Regions from separate parts of the Homo sapiens genome. Here region 1 is linked to region 2. The links are contacts of gene promoters, found by promoter capture Hi-C in blood cells and fetal thymus (Javierre and others, 2016). All regions are on one chromosome and are shown on one strand. Each heading gives the region's core, a stretch centred on a gene start or on the middle of the fragment in contact. The rest is flanking DNA. Distances are from core to core; before and after follow the strand shown.

The links. Contacts are between HindIII fragments. The CHiCAGO score rates a contact against its expected background, and 5 or more counts as called.
Region 1: a contact is called between a fragment that was not itself captured here and the fragment with the promoter of MCU in region 2, in 1 of 17 cell types (fetal thymus). The highest score is 5.5, in fetal thymus.

The regions. Positions count from the first base shown.
Region 1 is chr10:72,075,588-72,080,409 of GRCh38, forward strand. All of the region lies in intron 1 of SPOCK2 (SPARC (osteonectin), cwcv and kazal like domains proteoglycan 2), which reads right to left. Among named protein-coding and RNA genes, the nearest start is that of SPOCK2, 11 kb to the right of the region's middle. The HindIII fragment of the contact is 3,129 bases long and covers 987-4,115 here.
Region 2 is chr10:72,688,630-72,693,537 of GRCh38, forward strand. MCU (mitochondrial calcium uniporter) reads left to right here and starts at 3,514. Exons shown (of 8, transcript NM_138357.3): 1 at 3,514-3,672. The coding sequence starts at 3,523. RefSeq lists enhancers at 3,132-3,191, 4,862-4,908 and silencers at 3,392-3,851, 3,942-3,991, 4,012-4,101. The HindIII fragment of the contact is 1,146 bases long and covers 3,169-4,314 here.

The DNA.
Region 1 (4,822 bases), core at 1,301-3,800, 610 kb before region 2:
ATTTGGGGGAAAGTGGGGATGGCGTGGGAGTTCTAAGAAAGGGGCTTTCCCCAGCTGCTCCACCATCCCCCACTCCCTTCCTGACTCAGCTGGCAGGGAGGGAGCCCCTTCTGTGCAAAGCACTGCCCCCGGTTCCAGCCTCGACTTTTTGCCTCTGCTGTGGCCAGGCTGGGCAGGCAGGATGGAGGGGCCCCAGTGGATCTGGATTCCAGGACCCTCACTCCCAGGAAAGCAAAGGCAGCCAGCCAGAGAGGGACGAGGAGAGCAGGGCCCTGGGGTCCTGCAGATCCCCAGGCTTCCCCCGACCAGTGCACCTTGGGCAAGCACCCGACCTCGAGGGGCTCAGTGCCTATCTCCCAGGACTACTCAGAGATTAAAGCAGATGGCACCTGCGGGGTGCCTGGGGTCCAGGAAGCACTTAACAAATCAAAGCTGCTATGATGGAGAAGAGACCCCCGGACTGCAAGTGCGGAAAATGAGGGACAGAGATGCCACATGAGGAACCCCAAAAAAGTGGAGAGGGAGAGGCCACCATGGGGACAGCAGAGACCAGAAGGGATACGAGGAGAGTCCCCTAGGAGGTCTTGTGGGGAGGAATGACGAGGAAGTCCTCTGGGCAGCTGGGGAGTGGCCACTCTGAGGGTAAAACTCAAGGACACACTGAGGGGTCCCTGAGGCCAGGTGTGGGCTGGCGCCACCTTTAAGCTGAAAAAAAGGTGTTTGTTGGCAAGTGCAAATAATGCCTTTCAGTGCAGTGTTGGGTGTCTATTTATGGCACCCCAGTGGGCTCATTAGCAGTTGTGAGAAATAGTCTGATCAGGGCACCTGGGGCTTCTCAGGAAACAGAGGCCCCGTTCTACACCTGAGAGTGGTGGCAGGTGGCTCTGCTGCCGACCTCACCTGGAAAATGGGGATTTGGAAGAGCTCGTGGCTTGTATTGCATGGTGCTTATATATGCTTATCTATCTACCTATCTATATGAGTAAAGCTTTTAATTTAAAAAAATGTTTTAATAGAGATGGGGTCTTGCCATGTTGCCCAGGCTGGTCTTGAACTCCTGGGCTCAGGCAGTCCTCCTGCCTTAGACTCCTACAGTGCTGAGATTATAGGCGTGAGCCACTGCACCCAGCCTGCATGGTGCTTTTAGAGTAAGTTCTCTCCAGGCATTTGGATGGGTCTGCCTTTTATCCTCACAGTCCTGTGAAGTAGTCAGAGCCAATAGGATCAACACCAGAAGAAAGGAGAAAACGAAGGCTCAGAGAGGCAGAGCAACTGGCCAGAGATGGCAAGACAAAAGAGGAGCTGAGTCAGGGTTCCCCATCGCCCCCTCCCACCCCACAAGTTAGAGTCTCTCTCCTTAAGAGAGGACCAGCATCTGCACTGAGGAGGAGGAGGCAGAGAGAGGACATAGAAGGGGCACTGGACCAGGAGTCCACTTTCAGCCTGGCCCACGGTGTGTCCTCAAAGAAGTCACTTCCTCGTTGTTGAGGACCTCAGTGGTGACTGCACCTTAGAATCAGCCGAGGAGCTCTTTATTTTTATTTATTTATTGAGACAGAGTCTTGCTCTGTCACCCAGGCAGGAGTGCAGTGGTGCAATCATAGCTCACTGTAGCCCCGAACTCCCAGGCTCAAGCGATCCTCCCACCTCAGCCTTCCAAGTACCTGGGAGCACAGGCATGTGCCACCATGCCTGTCTAATTTTTATTGTGGTGGTTTTTTTCATAGAGATAGGGTCTTGATATGCTGCCCAGGCTGATCTCGAACTCCTGGGCTCAAGTGATCCTCCTCCCTCAGCTCCCCAAAGCACTGGGGTTACAGGCATGAGCCACTGTGCCCTTCCCCAAGGAGCTTTTTAAACCTTCCAGCACGCACATGCTACCTGAGACCCCTGAAATCCCATGGGTGGTACCCAGCTCGGGCCACGCTTCTGTGCTGGCTCTAGGCAGGCAGCTTAGAGACCACTGGGCCAGCCATCAGGCCTCAGGTCCCTCCCGCTCTGTGCTTATGTCTAATATTTTGCTTATGTTCTTGGGTGTCTTCACCCCAAACACGGGGCCTCTGGGATGAAAAAGAACAGCCATTCTTCCTCCCTCCGAGGGTGCCTCACACAAAGCGATACAAGGTGTGCTGAGGAGCAGGCCGGCCCTGGGAGAACCCAGGCTCCTGCTTCCAATTCCAGGCCCGTTCCTGGAGCACGCTTACCGTGCCACCCTCACCAACCCAAAGACTGTCCTGCCCCTTCCCCTCCCGAATCCCTCTCGCTTGCCCTCCCTGCCCTACACCCACCGGCCAGGACCACCCCAACCCGAAAAACTGCAGCGCCTCCTGAGGGTCTCCCTCCTCCCACTGTCTTCCACACGGCTGCGGCCACCCGGATCCTTCCAAAACACAATTCTGACCCGGTCTCTCTCTCTTTGAAACTGAATATACAGTTTGATCTCATTTTGGGGAAAAAGAAAGTGAGTAGGTGAAAAGGATTTATACCAAAATGGTAACAGTCATTTCCACTGCTGGGTAGGAATACAGAGAATTCTGACATCTTTCTGCTTTTCTCCAACTTTCCCCAAAATTTCTGCAATGAACATATATTACTTTGTAATAAAGAGAAAAAACATAATCATAATCATAATAAATATAAATAATAGGCCAGGCGCGGTGGCTCACACCTGTAATCCCAGCACTTTGGGAGGCCAAGGCGGGCGGATCACGAGGTCAGGAGATCGAGCACCCTGGATAACACGGTAAAACCCCATCTCTACTAAAAATACAAAAATAGCCGTGTGTGATGGCGGGCGCCTGTAGTCCCAGCTACTCGGGAGGCTGAGACAGGAGAATGGCGTGAACCCGGTAGGCAGAGCTTGTAGTGAGCCAAGATCACGCCACTGCACTCCAGCCTGGGCGACAGAGTGAGACTCCGTCTCAAAAAAATAAAGAAATAAATAATAAAAATAAAATAAATTTTAAAAATAATAAAAAATATAATAAGTATTATATTTTGAAAGCCTTTCACGGGTTCCCAGTCACCTACAGAAGAAATTCCATCTTCTCTTGATCTCTCCCTGGCTACCCCAGCTCCAGGTCCTTCCTGCAAGGTTCCAGCATGGCCAAACCCCAGCACAGCTGTCTCCATCCAGAATGCAAGTTCACATCAGCCCCAGAATTTCTACTCATCTCCCAAAACCCAGCTCAGCCATCATCTTCCCGAGCCCCACTCCTTATCCTTCAGGCCAGCTGTGCCTCACAGAAGTCTACCATTGTTCCAGTGACACCAGGCAATGTCGCCTCTGCCTCACTCCGCCCTAGTTAAATAGCCAGTTCCTTGAGAGCAGAGACCATGTAAATTTCTTCTCTCTATGCCCAACATCTAGTACCTAGTAATACACACTCCTAACAATAGCTGACATCTTTATAGCAATTACCACGTGGCAAGCATTATGCTAAACACTTCACATTCATTGGCTTGTTTCCTCTTCACAACAGCTCTAAGAAACATTACTATTATTATCTCCATGTCTCAGATGATAAAATTGAGGCTCAGAGAGGTTAAGTGACTTAGGCAGGGTCACACAGCAATTGCACAGGAGAAGAGTGCTGCACCCAGAACTGTGATTCCAGAATCCGTGCCCCTAACCAGCACTCCATAAATGTTAGCTGATGAAAAAAGTCCTAGGCCAGGGGTGGGTCCCAGGAGGCCCAATCCCAGCCCACAGGTGGTTTCTCCTACCACACCAACTCTGCTTCAAGTCCTAGGCAGGGAGTTTTGCAGCCAGGAGAGGAGGGTCTGGTGGTGGAAGGGGAAGACACCTGGGGGCCCCCGTTCTCCAGGCATTTTTCAGAAACCCCTTCACATGACCCCTGGTTCAGCTGGTTTGGAGCTAACCCATCTTCAGCTTTGATCTCTGCAGCTCAGCTCAGTTGCCATGGAGACGGTGCCCACTGAGCCAAGCTGGGGGAGACAGCAGTGAGTGCGCAGGCCTAGTCAGGCTTAGGGGGCACATGCTGGGTGTTTCCAAGTGCTGTTTACTTCCTGTCATTTTAATTAGCACCCAAATCACCCGCTCACTTCACAGCTTGAATTAACCCAATCTCTCCCAGCTTCTCCATCTGGTATGAAGCTTGGGACCTAGCAGCGAATCAGCAAAGAAGAGCAGCCCTCCAGACCCTGGCTTATGGGGTCAAGATCCACCTGCTTCTTTGCAGCACAGTGTGACAGAGAGACCTCACCCCCTACACCCCTCACCACCAAGGACTCAGGGGCCTGGGCTCCTGCTTGGCCTTGCCACTGACTGCCAGCAAGTGAGTCGCTTCCCTTGCTGGACTGGCTTCCTTGGCTGTAAAATAAGGATGACCCCCTTGCCTTCCCCTCTGAGCTGCAGAAGAACCCAGGCAATCATGTCTGCAAGGGGACTTTGTGAACTGAAGCTCCATACTTTCAAAAGACACAAGACAGGACACCTGAACCCCGGGTTCTCTGGCACACACCCGGGGAGCCTAGGGACAGGACTGGGCAGAGGTTCTGTAGGGTCTCAGTGTTACAAGGGGTCTCAATATGGACATCTGACATTGTCTCCACTTGAGGACACACAGCCAGAGGCACAGCGACAGGACGGAAAGAAGACAGTCATCATAAGACTGAATACACCACAATTTCCCTAACCCTGTTACGGCATTTCTTCATTTTTTAATAGATCAAGAATCTCTAAAAATGGAAGTGGGCCAGGCCTGGCTCAGCCTCTGAGAGGCCCTGTATCTGCCATTATTTTGGCCTCATTCCTCAGGCAACGGGGCCTGTGATGGAGGCCAGTCCACTGAAGAAGGCC
Region 2 (4,908 bases), core at 2,264-4,763:
GAGAACAATTTACTTTTCATATATATATAAATTGTAAGATGTGTATACATATACATCTTAAATTCAAGCAGATGAGAATACTTTAAACCATTCAGAAGAATAGCTACCCCTTAAAACTTCCCAGAGGTAACATGTTTTCTTCTGGAAATTACCATCTATCTAAGTTATACATATATATAAATTACTTTAAAAAGGGTCATCTATACTGTGTTATCTATATTATTTAAATGTATAGATAGCACCTGTAATCCAAGCATTTTGGGAGGCTGAGGTGGGAGAATCACTTGAGGTCAGGAGTTCAAGACCAGCCTGGCCAACGTGGTGAAACCCCCATCTCTACCAAAAATACAAAAATTAGCTGGGCGTGGTGGTGCAACACCTGTATTCCCAGCTACTCAGGAGGCTGAGGCGAGAGGATCGCCTCTGAACCCAGGAGACAAAGCTTGCAGTGAGCCAAAATCGTGCCACTGCCCTCCAGCCTGGGCGATAGAGTGAGACTTCGTCTCAAAAAAATATATATATACACATATATAAATAAAAATATATATATTATATAATAAAAAAGTATAGATAGAATAATTTTTTTTTAAGAGAGAGAGTCTCGCTCTCTCACCCAGGCTAGAGTGCAGTGCCATGATCATAGCTCACCATAACCTCAAATTTCCTGGGCCCAAGCAAGCCTCCTGCCTCAGCCTCCTGAGTAGCTGGGACTACAGGCGTGCACCACCACACCCAACTAATTAAAAAATATATATTTTTAGAGATAGGGTCTCGCTGTGTTGCCCAGGCAAGTCTCAAATATGTGGTCTCAAATGATCCTCCTGCCTCAGTCTCTCAAAGAGCTGGGATTACAGATATGAGCCACTGTGCTTGGCCCTCAATTTTTTAATGGTTGAATAATTTTCTGTTACAAAGTTAGTGTCTAATGTATTTAACCATTTCCCTATTGGAAGACATTGAGGTTTTCTTCAACTTCTTTCTCATGAAAGTTACAATTTTTAAAAGTTTTCTGTGGTTGTCTTGCCCTCCTTTTTAAATGTAGTATCTCTGGAGTGATCAGCACAATCTCTGGCACATAGCAGGTATGTTAATTCCCTTTCCTTCTCTCTCTATATAATGTGTGTGTATATACAGGCACACACACACATACTTTTTTTTAGGTTTGAGAAGAACTTTCTGTTGAGCTATCTACACTTTCTCCTTATCAGGCTTGGCCAACCAGCTCATATGAGATATGTCCTTTGCAGCTATGAAGAAGTTTTTCTCTGTGAGGAGATAATTGATATTTGTTTAAATTAATTGCCGGCCTTGGATTATCAACACCCAGAACTGAGTATAGTCAGTGAATCCTCAGATTTATACAGCCTATCTCTCTCTGGTGCATCAGTGGTTTCATCTTAGTAGATAAAAGATGACACATTTTGGTAAATAGGTAGGATGAAAACTTTTGCTAATACTGCCCATTTCATGTTTGTGCACTTAAAAGTATTATTTACTTAGTTCTTTTGCTAATGCATATGAGTAAATCTCACTGCAGGATGCACATCTAATTTTCATGCTTGGAAAAATAGAGTAAAGGCAATTCTAGTAAAATTTCTTAAAGTGGAAAGTGGAAATGGAGCAATCCTGATTCATAGCTAGATCTGGTGACAGCACAGAAAATAAAAACAAAACTAAAATCCATGGTGATCTCTGTAAGAAGGCATGAAGGGGTGAGAGAGAAAATGGCACAGCATGGGTAAATACATCAAATGCAGTTGGGATAAATATAGATGGGTGGAAAATAATTGTAAGGGAAATTGTTCCAGGAATGTCATGGATTTCCAACTAGGGGGATTACTGTGTGCAGCTGTTGAATGGGGGCTCATTCTTGAGGTCTCAAGTTCCACCTGTTGGGCAATAAAGCCTTTTGAGTGAGTGACATGATATCTACCCCGGAGAAGCCAATCATCTCACTGTTTTGGTGTAGGTGGGGCATAAGGATTAAACAAACAAAAAACTTCCACGTCATTTTTTAGCTATTCTTGGCCAAGAAGGTACCATTTCAGTCAAACTTTAAAGAATATTCTTAGAATAAGTGATAACATTTTCTTCGTATTTATGTGTGTGTTTTGTTTTTGTTTTAAATTTATCATCTAAGGCTACACTACAAAGATGTTTTCCAAAATTTAAAATAATGCTTGTATTTGCTTCCCAAACTATTTTCCTGCTCCAGATTTTAAAAAGAGGTGTGAGAATTTAATCAGCTCATAATAATAAACAGCTAGCAAGGAAATACTCTTCTAAGGAAATTCAGGACCCAAAATCTTTCTTAGGCAGTATTCAAGGAGCCCTCATTGTGAGTTTAAGTGGAAAGAAGTGTTTTTCAAGAGAAAGTGTTTGTTATTCCAAAGCGTATTCTGATAACTATTTCGGCAAAATTATGAAGCATCATTAAAATAGCCTTTTACATGAATTTTTTTTTTTTTTTTTGAGATGGAGTCTTGCTGTGTCGCCCAGGCTGGAGTGCAATGGCCCGATCTCGGTTCACTGCAAGCTCCGTCTCCCGGGTTCACACCATTCTCCTGCCTCAGCCTCCGGAATAGCTGGGACTATAAGCGCCCGCCACCACGCCTGGCTAATTTTTTGTATTTTTAGTACAGATGGGGTTTCACCGTGTTAGCCAGGATGGTCTCGATCTCCTGACCTCGTGATCCGCCCGCCTCTGCCTCCCAAAGTGCTGGGATTACAGGCGTGAGCCACCGCGCCCGGCCTTACATGATTTTTTATTACGTTATTAATGTGTTCTGTTTCTGTAAATGCACACAAAGTCAAATATGATAAAATAGTGCTGTTTCTGGAGAGTGTGAGAATATCCGTATAAAGGTGCTGTAAAAATGAATTGGGTATTTGAGATGTATACACGTCAGTTAATTCACTCTGAAGGCATGTACTCATTCTGGGACTTTGATATTGTAATCGTTCTACCTCTCCTATATTATGCTACGCATCACAGTCATTAGATCACTCCGTGATGTAGAGTTAATTTCAGCATATCTAAATATTATCAGTTATGAATGATAATTCTAGGCGTGTAGTTGAGAGTTACAGCATACACCGTTAATGGTTATTAATTTGGTGCCTATTTTGCCAACTTAGAACACTCACTTAGAACTCAACTTCGAACAAAGCTTTTCACAAATATCTATATCCCCCGTTACTCTTATCATAGCTCTATTGTTGGTGAAGATTAGCCGAACTGAACATGCCATCTCTATTGCTGTTATTTTCACGGGTTTGGGTGTCAATTATGGGTTCCCTAGAATTTGCCCGTAATTGACTATGTCCCACTATAGGTAACTCTGGAAGGGACTGGCAGCTTCCAGTGTGGTTCTCCCGCCTGTCGATTGGACCTTGCAGGAAGCCCCGCCTCATCAACTCAGTCAAGGGCTTTAGTTGGCCCGGCGTCGGTGAGTGGCGGGTCTTAGCTCCGCCCTGGCCGTCCGCTGCGCTGCCTGGGTCGGCGCCGTTTCCAGTTGAGAGATGGCGGCCGCCGCAGGTAGATCGCTCCTGCTGCTCCTCTCCTCTCGGGGCGGCGGCGGCGGGGGCGCCGGCGGCTGCGGGGCGCTGACTGCCGGCTGCTTCCCTGGGCTGGGCGTCAGCCGCCACCGGCAGCAGCAGCACCACCGGACGGTGAGCGAGCGCGCCCGGAGGCTCCGGGGAGGGCGGGGCGGCGCTGGCGTGTGGGAGCCGCCGGCGGGCAGGCCGCCGGGGCAGCAGGCGAGTTACCTCAACTCCCGGCCGCTCCGGAGGTTGCCGGGCACCGAGGAGCCGCCGTGCCCTTCAGGCGCCTGCGGCGGCGACCAGGAAGGGAGGGCGGGCGGGAGGAAGCCGAGAGGAGGAGGAGGGGCGACGGCGGGGATGTTCCCGCAGGACTGGGGACACCAGGGCGGGGAAGGCACGGGACTTGAACCTCTCCCCGACTCGCCCCCAATCGCGTTCCCTCCCTTCTTCGTTCTTAACAGCCCTGCCCCAAGGCTCCCTGAACGGAGCCAGATGGAAGTTGTCCCCTTTCCCTCCTCCTCCGGGCGGGTTGGGGAGTTCTGAGTTGCCGCGGCCGCCTTGTGTGTGCCAGGAGAGTGGCAGTGCCATGCTGCTGGGAGCTGCCCCGGAGAGCAGCCCAGGACCCCGGCGGGGCCGCCCCTCGTCCTCTCTCGTCCCCGAGGGGTCGGGCAGGAAGGAAAATCAAACTTTATTCCCCTCTGTGACTTCCTCTGTGTGTGTGCATGGGGAACCGGCTCCCTCGAGATGGATGCTGCATTGCTTCAGGAGGCAAGCTTCATCCTCTTGGGTCCTTAAAGGTGCTTTTGGGGGTCCTTTCGAGGGCTACTGTATAAGCGTGTTCACGCGTGCCTGAAGCGGGAAGGGTGGTCAGCAGGCACAGGAGAAGCGAATATGGTAAGTTGTTGACAGAGGCAGAGATTTGGTGGTTGTATTAACCAGTTGTTGCTGGGTTTCATTGGCTGGCAGAAAAAGAGGATTTCTGTTTGAACACTCTTGGGTGAGTGTGTGTGTGTGTGTGTGTGTGTGTGAGAGAGAGAGAGACAGAGTGTGAGAGAGATTTCTTTTTTCAATTGCAAGAGATGAATTTGGCATGGAGTTCTTAACCTAACAAGTCAGGAGGTTTCCTTCCCTTGGACTTTCTAGACCTATATGTGTTGGTCTCTGGCCAGCTCTGAGGGAAAGAATGTAGGTTTTATTTGCTGGGGCTGAGTTGTATAGTGTGATTATTGGAGGATCACTGCAAACAGCTTGATAGGAGAAACTACAATAGTACCTTCAACCCTCAATAAACACATCGCCTGCCTTGTTCTGATCATAACTCTTAAGAGGAAACTGAACTGGAGCTCTTCGGAGAGGATACTCCTA